Regions from separate parts of the Homo sapiens genome. Here region 1 is linked to region 2. The links are contacts of gene promoters, found by promoter capture Hi-C in blood cells and fetal thymus (Javierre and others, 2016). All regions are on one chromosome and are shown on one strand. Each heading gives the region's core, a stretch centred on a gene start or on the middle of the fragment in contact. The rest is flanking DNA. Distances are from core to core; before and after follow the strand shown.

Region 1 (3,776 bases), core at 1,057-3,556, 100 kb after region 2:
AATCTGCCATCTTAATATCCTGAAAACCAACAGACTTGAAGAGGCTGCAGACTGCACTGTACGGGAAGCCATAAGCAGAAGGAAAATAAGCTTAGCAAAGTATAGAGGAAGTTGGAGCAGGGGGGTAGGAGAAGAGGAGAAAAAAGCAGCTTGAATTTCAGCTTTTGTTGAAGGAAATAATTGAAAATTAAAATCATTTTGATTTTCCTGGGAAACTGAATTGACTGGGAGCTCACCTGATATGTGAAAAGCAAGCTCGAGGTTCACCTACCATGCCGAATGTGTTCTGGTTTCCCACCAGCCACCCCGTCTTCCTTTGATGAACAGAGCTTTCTCTTAAGTAAACATTTAAGACCTAATTGGATCATTGGTGTGGTGTCACAGTAATTAATGCACAGCCTGGAGTAGTTACACAAATGTTGGTCTGAGCAATACCAAGTACTGCTGAGAAATCAGAGGGGCCCGTGGGATCCAGCCAATGAGCCTGGTGCTCGATTGTTCTTGGTGATGAGGAAGAAATAGCAGGAATATCTCCAGGATACAAGGTGTATTATTCAAAGATTAAGAAAAAATCTCAACAATGGCTGACCAGTGATTAGAGCTTTATTATTTTGTTTAGCTAAGAATAGATTAAAATGACCCCAAAGAGAGAGCTCAGTGTTCTCATTGATTTTATGTTTTGTTATTTGGTTGAGATTGGGGTGCAGAAACCAACTTGAGCTAGTTTAAGCCCAACAAAGGAATTCACTGTAAGGATGCAGAGGTTTTTGCTGGAACCCAAGAGCAGAAGTACAGCTAGGCTTCTGGAAAGGAATGGTCTTAGTATAGGGAAGCTGGGTGTGTTGTCTCTATCTCTCCTGCCTCTGTGCTCCAAAGAGCCACTACCTCATTTTTTCCCTCTCCCTGGAAATTTTCTCCACTGGTGTTGTAGTAAATGTCTAATACTCAATTCTCTGATGAAAGAGATGCCCCGATTTGCAGTGGTTGCCAATTTCCATGGTGTAAATACTTCCACCATGGCTGATTCAAAGCTACCAATGTGGAGGCAGAGTTGGGAAGAGATGTGCAATAGCTTATGATTATATAGTATTCCCACCTTACAGATATATGGCTGTAAAGAATCTCAGGAGCATAGATTATAATAAACTATAATAAAATAATTAGGAAGTGGTGCATTTCAGTACTTATTACCTTTGTTTTAAATATAATTTAAATTTATATAATTTAATTTTTAATAATGGTTGTGTTCACAATTTGGCTTGCAGAATTCCTGCTAATTTAAGAAATCAGTCCTTGGGAGCTGGTACTTATGAGCTGATTCTAGCATACCACATTTCTTCCCCACTTCAGGGTACAGCACAAGGCAACACATGGCTGCCCCACAACTGTCTCTCCCAGAGGGATTCCACATTGGAATATGGCCCAATTCTGCATTATAGGAAGAGAGAATGTGGTTGGTTGAGTCTGGGTCAGGTGTTCTTGTTTGGGCAATCAGCTCTGGCTGGGAGTGTGCTGGAAGCAGGTCTTCCCTGGAAGGGGCAGGGGATGATGAATGTGTTAAAGGAATTTCCAGCAGCTTCCACGTCAAAGAGTAGTGCTTGTTCAGGATTTGTTATGTGCCAGGCAATTCAAAGATATTTTCTCATTTTTTCCTTCAGACTTCTGTGACCTGGACACTATTGTCCCTATTTTACAGCTGAGGAAACAGAGGGCCAGAGAGGTTTAGTAACTTACCTAAGGTCACATGGCCAGTAAACTGCAGAGATGAAATTCACATCCAGGCCCTGTTTTACCCCAAAGCCCTCTTTCACCAACCAGGTTATCTCTCATGCAGAGATACCATGCAAAATGGGAGGCCTGAGCAAGAGTAATAACGTTCCTGAACCTGTAGAGGAACAGCAACAGCTGGAATAGAGAATAAGGAGGAAAAAAAACACACACACACACACACACAAAACAAACAAACAAAAAAACCCAGAATGTGAATAAGAGGAATGAGAGCAAAAGCATGTATTATTTTTACTGAAAAACTCCAATCTTGCTGCAGTTGCTTCTCTTCTTTCTTTTAATCTCTGGGGGTGAGAGGCAGATACTGATTTCTTTGTAATTTAGGGTTTTGTTGCAGATCCTGTTGAGTTGAATAGGGGTGTGGATGCTCATTTTTACTTTATTCATTGTTTGCCTTCCCCGGTCACTTTTGTGTGCTTCTGCCCCCAGGTATTGGGCACAGTTAATTCTTCCTGCAATTAGTATTCATGGTCAGCTAAGCAGAACTAATGCAACAACCGTTTTTACTTTGAAGGTTATATTACATGTTTCCAAGGTCCTGCAGAAGAGGCTCTTTATGAATAAGATATTCTTGACCCTCTCTAGGAATTTAATTTTCCCTTTTCCGAGTTTCCGAGCCCACCTTTTGAATTCTTTAATGTGATTCCTTAGGAAGAACCCAGAGCCAGACAGGCAACAGGATATAGTCAAATCAAAATGCGGTAGTTTAAAATGTTTCCTTCTCTGGGGATGCAAGACCAGAGTACATGCTCTGCTTGTCTTAGAGTGGCTGTCTCTTCATTTTACTGGTTCCATATATATATATATATATACATACATATATATATATGTATATATATATATGTATGTATATATATATATCATTACTATAAATTGCTTCCATAGGAAAAAAATGCTCACTAATTTAAAATAGATTCAAGGAAGGGACTGAGAATTCTGACTTCGGATCATTTCAAAACTATATGCAATTATTGCAGGTAATTTCCCAGATAGCAGAAGCAGCAAGAAATATTCTTTAAAAAAATCTGAAACTTTTTTTTGGAAATAGCAAAATGTGACTTTTTCATACTGAATGCGTGACATCAATTAATACTTTAAATGGCCCAAAGTGGTCAGAAAATTCATTTAGCTGCTTTGGAAAAATTCTAATGACTCCAAAAACATAAAGCAGACCATTTAGAGTCATTTAAATGTGGTTCAACATAGTGAACACATACTATCTCCCAGCTGTTCAGCTTTTAAAAGGTGCTGGCAATACTATTTTGTCCTTTTTTTTTCTTTTTATACTTCTTATGGTTAAAAATAGCATTGGAGTTTCAACTGATGATCTTCAGAGATTTATATTACATGAAAAAACAAAATCTAGGAAAGAAGTAATATCTGACTTTTTAAGATGATGCCTTTATTTCTTGATTTCTGAATTTTAACGTATAAGATTTTGTTTACATTTTTCTTTTCAAATAAAAACATTTTTTTTCAAAATTTTAAAATTTACATTCAATCATTTGGAAACAATGAGTTTTATGACCATACAATTGTATTTCCCATTTTGCTTTTGCCACGAGGAAGCTCTGAGCCCAAATTGTGGCTGGCTTCTAGCAATTTGTAGGACCCTGTGGTGCAGAACCAGGTGTCTAGACCCTCTATGCCACCCCCGCTTACCCTATTCTTTTCTATTTGTTAATGGTTTTGTTTATGGATTTCTATGAGCCTCCCTCCACCTTTTAAAAAGATAAAGTGAAGTGTATAGTGTGTGATACTAAAAAATCATCTACTGATAAAATGGCAAAGGACTTCCCAGCCCCTTAATAAGGCCCAATTTTTCTGCTGGAGTTGAGGTCTCCCACCCAAGCATCTCTGCTTCATTTACAGCCCACCCCAGGACCTCACCCAGAGCTGAGCCCTCCAGTGCCCAGTGGGGAGAGTGGTAAAAAAGAGAGGGATGATAAGGTGGCTGAGGAATGCTTAGCAAGGAGGCCCAGGAAGCT
Region 2 (3,643 bases), core at 316-2,815:
GGCCGCAGTCGGTAACTCACCGCGGCTAATGATATTATAAGCGCTTTACTTAATAACCCGGGCGCGGTGCAGGCGAGGAAGGAACTGCACAGTCATGCAGTGTCTGGACATTTGTGGGGACTGATTCCAGAGTCTCCACTCACCCTTGGCTGCACTTGGGGGGCACCCTAAAGACAGGGCTTCTGGAATCTCTTGGCCAAGAGGTCTAGAGGTCACAGCTTGAGGGGACGGGGTTGCCTGAGCACTTCGGGCCTTGCCTCACTTCAGTTTCCAGGAAGCTTGTGCAGACGACTGTGGCCCCAAACCGCTTTGCTTGGCTGGGCTAATTCTAGCTCGGGTAACAGCTGATCTAGGAATTAAAGGGGCGAGAGCCAGGGCACAGAAGGGGGCTATGAGAACACAGAGGGAATCACTATTTACTGAGCACCACGGTGTGCCAGGCTCGGTGCTGGGTAGTTTGACCTCACAACAGCCTCTGCGAGGGAGGCACTGCTTCCTCCAATTTTAGGAATAAAGAAACCGAGCCTCAGAATTTCCAAATGTCTTCCCCCAAGATCACCCAGCCGAGAATTGAGTCGAGTCTGCTCAATTCTAAAACCGAGTCCTGTCACCAGTTCCTTATCTTCTTCCTGGGAGTAAGGCGTCTATTTCTGCAGCAGTTCGGAAACCTTCAAAATTTACAAAACAAAAACACAGATTCGCTTAAAACACGGGTGGGCCATGGGCTACCCGGCCAGGTTTATGGAGTACCTACTATGCGCTGCTAGTGCTTCGAGGCTTTTAATCCCTACCTGAGGCAATCCGAGAAGTTATTTTCAACTATGAGGGCAGAGAGGCTTTAATCGGCATGAGTTGTGCAAGTTCATGCAGTGTGTAAATAGTTGTGCCGGAATTTGAACCCAGATCTCTTGACTAGAGGTCTTAGGGCTTCCTCCCTCCCCCTAAAGATTCTGTAGGTCCGTAGAACCTGTGACAGGGATGAGGTCTGCAGACGGGGAAGGGGAATGTCTGCTCCCAAGGCTCCTGGCCATGCTGGAGAGGATGAGCGTCCGCCTGGAGACGCCTGCTCCTAACCCACCTCACCCCCACGCAGGGCGCCACGGTCCCAGGAGTGCCGGCTTTGCCCGCCCACTGGGGCTAGAAGGGGTGGAGGGCTGGGGGAGGATGGTGGAGCAGCCTGTACAAGCCCCTGGGAGGCGCGGAGACCCGTCGCCTGCGGAGGCGTCGAGCCACTCCAGCTCCGAGTCCCGCACCGCCCCTGCCTCTGGAGAGAAGGGTCCAAGGGGTCCAAGGAGTCGGAGTTGCCGCAGCCGCCAGGAACCCGGGCTAGAATCTGCAGCTGCTTTCAGCCCTGGCTGCCCCTGGTTAGACGCCGCTGATGCCCGCCAGGCCCTCGGCGCGCTCTGGGGGCGCACCGGTGCTGTGTGCCTGGCCGGAGCGTTTTGAAATTTTCCGGGGCCGCTCGGCGGCGCTGCGATTGGCCGCGTTCGGGTAACCTCTATGCAAATGAGGCCGCGCCGCCTCCGCGCCGCCGGAGACCCGGCGAGTTGGCGGGCGAGGAAGGGGCATTTGCACCGGGGCTGGGCGGGCGCACCCAGAGCCAGGCGGGCAGGAACCCCTGCGCAGCCATCCGGTGCCTGCATGTCCCTGGCGCGGAAGGGACGCCTCACCAGCCTCGGCGCCCCCTCCCCCTAGATTTCCTCCCCGCCCCTCCCCACTGCCTGCCTGCTGCACCACCTTCCACCCAGATCACCCAGATCGTCTCTAAAGGGAGTTCTTGGTTTCCTTCGATTTCTTATGAACCCAGGATGGGCAGCAAAGAAGATGCGGGCAAGGGGTGTCCGGCGGCCGGTGGCGTCTCCAGCTTCACCATCCAGTCCATCCTGGGCGGGGGCCCCTCGGAGGCACCGCGGGAGCCCGTCGGCTGGCCAGCCAGGAAGCGCAGCCTGTCCGTGTCCTCGGAGGAGGAGGAGCCGGACGACGGCTGGAAGGCGCCCGCCTGCTTCTGCCCAGACCAGCACGGCCCTAAGGAGCAGGGCCCCAAGCACCATCCCCCCATCCCTTTTCCTTGCCTGGGTAAGGATCGCACGTCGCCAGTGTGGCAGCGAGCGAGCGCGAGGGGAGGGAGGCTGAGCGCCCCGCCAAGACTCCCGCGCCGGGCCCCCTCTGGCCAGAGCTGCGGCAGCCGGGGGTTCGGGACCGCGGGGAGAGGGGCGCGCACTGTGGTGCCTCCTCCGCCCGGTGGGCCCCTGGGAGCAGGCGAACACAGACCCGTGCCGGCTTGGGCTTCCTGGGGAAGGTTGAGTTGTTGAGAGAGTGGACCACAGCGAGAGGGACACGCGGCCGGCCTTACACCCGGCTGTCCTCAATCACTGCACATCTGGTACTTTCTTTCCGGACACGAGGTGGAGATCTGCAAGTCGGGTCTGGGCAGTCTGTCTCCACCGTAATCTCTTTCTGAGTCTTCTTCCTCACTCGCTCCGTATCTCTGCCTTTCTCTCTCTCTCCTCCTTGGAATGATTAGCACTCCAAGATGATTGACAATGGTGCATTTCAGAGACGGTTCCTCTTTACAACATTTGACGAAGGGGAGTCCTGCGTTAGTCCTTAGCGTGATTTCCAAACAAACGGCCTGTGAAATGATGCCACCCTATAAAGCTCGAGGAACTCTTCCAGCTCAATTACCACCAAGCAAATTCGCCTTTTAAAACCATGCTAATGTTTCCCCCTCCAGACCTCCTCTCCCTGTTGCCCCTGGCCCATTCATAAAGGTGGGAGCACAGAGACCCCATACTCCAAGTAGCTGGGTCCCTCTCTTGTCGCTTTTAAAGGACGGGGTGCTGGGTTTGGGGGGCCAGTGAGAGGGATAAGAGGAGGGGATTGGTAAGGTGGGACCAAGGCTGCAGGCGCTTGCCAACCGCTTGGTCCCAGGGAGAGCTGGCGGTCTCCGAGGCTCCCCAACCAACTCCATGGCCTTTCTGTCTGTTCTCGCTCCTCAGGTACCCCCAAGGGCAGCGGAGGCTCGGGCCCGGGCGGCTTGGAGCGCACGCCTTTCCTCTCTCCTTCGCACTCGGACTTTAAAGAAGAGAAAGAGAGGCTCCTGCCCGCGGGCTCGCCCTCGCCGGGGTCCGAGCGGCCGCGGGACGGCGGCGCTGAGCGGCAGGCCGGCGCGGCCAAGAAGAAGACGCGCACCGTCTTTTCGCGCAGCCAGGTGTACCAGCTCGAGTCCACCTTCGACATGAAGCGCTACCTGAGCAGCTCGGAGCGCGCCTGCCTCGCCTCCAGCCTGCAGCTCACGGAGACCCAGGTAAAGACTTGGTTCCAGAACCGCCGCAACAAGTGGAAGCGGCAGCTCTCGGCTGAGCTGGAGGCGGCCAACATGGCGCACGCGTCGGCGCAGACTCTGGTGAGCATGCCGCTGGTGTTCCGGGACAGTTCGCTGCTGCGCGTGCCGGTGCCGCGCTCGCTCGCCTTTCCCGCGCCGCTCTACTACCCGGGAAGCAACCTCTCGGCCTTACCTCTCTACAACCTATACAACAAGCTCGACTACTGACCGGCCCGCCGCCCCGCGCCGCCCCCAGCTGCCCGCAGAGCCGGGCGCGTACTGTACTGTAAGCAGGGCTCCGGAGCAAGGCGGCGTGTT

The links. Contacts are between HindIII fragments. The CHiCAGO score rates a contact against its expected background, and 5 or more counts as called.
Region 1: a fragment that was not itself captured here is called in contact with the fragment with the promoter of HMX2 in region 2 in 1 of 17 cell types (naive CD4 T cells); the score reaches 6.2 in naive CD4 T cells.

Annotation. Positions count from the first base shown.
Region 1 is chr10:123,248,637-123,252,412 of GRCh38, forward strand. No RefSeq gene overlaps it. Among named protein-coding and RNA genes, the nearest start is that of BUB3, 96 kb to the left of the region's middle. The HindIII fragment of the contact is 4,437 bases long and covers 89-3,776 here.
Region 2 is chr10:123,146,571-123,150,213 of GRCh38, forward strand. It overlaps HMX2 (H6 family homeobox 2), which reads left to right and starts at 1,566. Exons shown (of 2, transcript NM_005519.2): 1 at 1,566-2,076; 2 at 3,000-3,643. The coding sequence starts at 1,809. The coding sequence ends at 3,553. RefSeq lists silencers at 1,436-1,755, 2,146-2,275, 3,383-3,643. The HindIII fragment of the contact is 9,748 bases long and covers 277-3,643 here.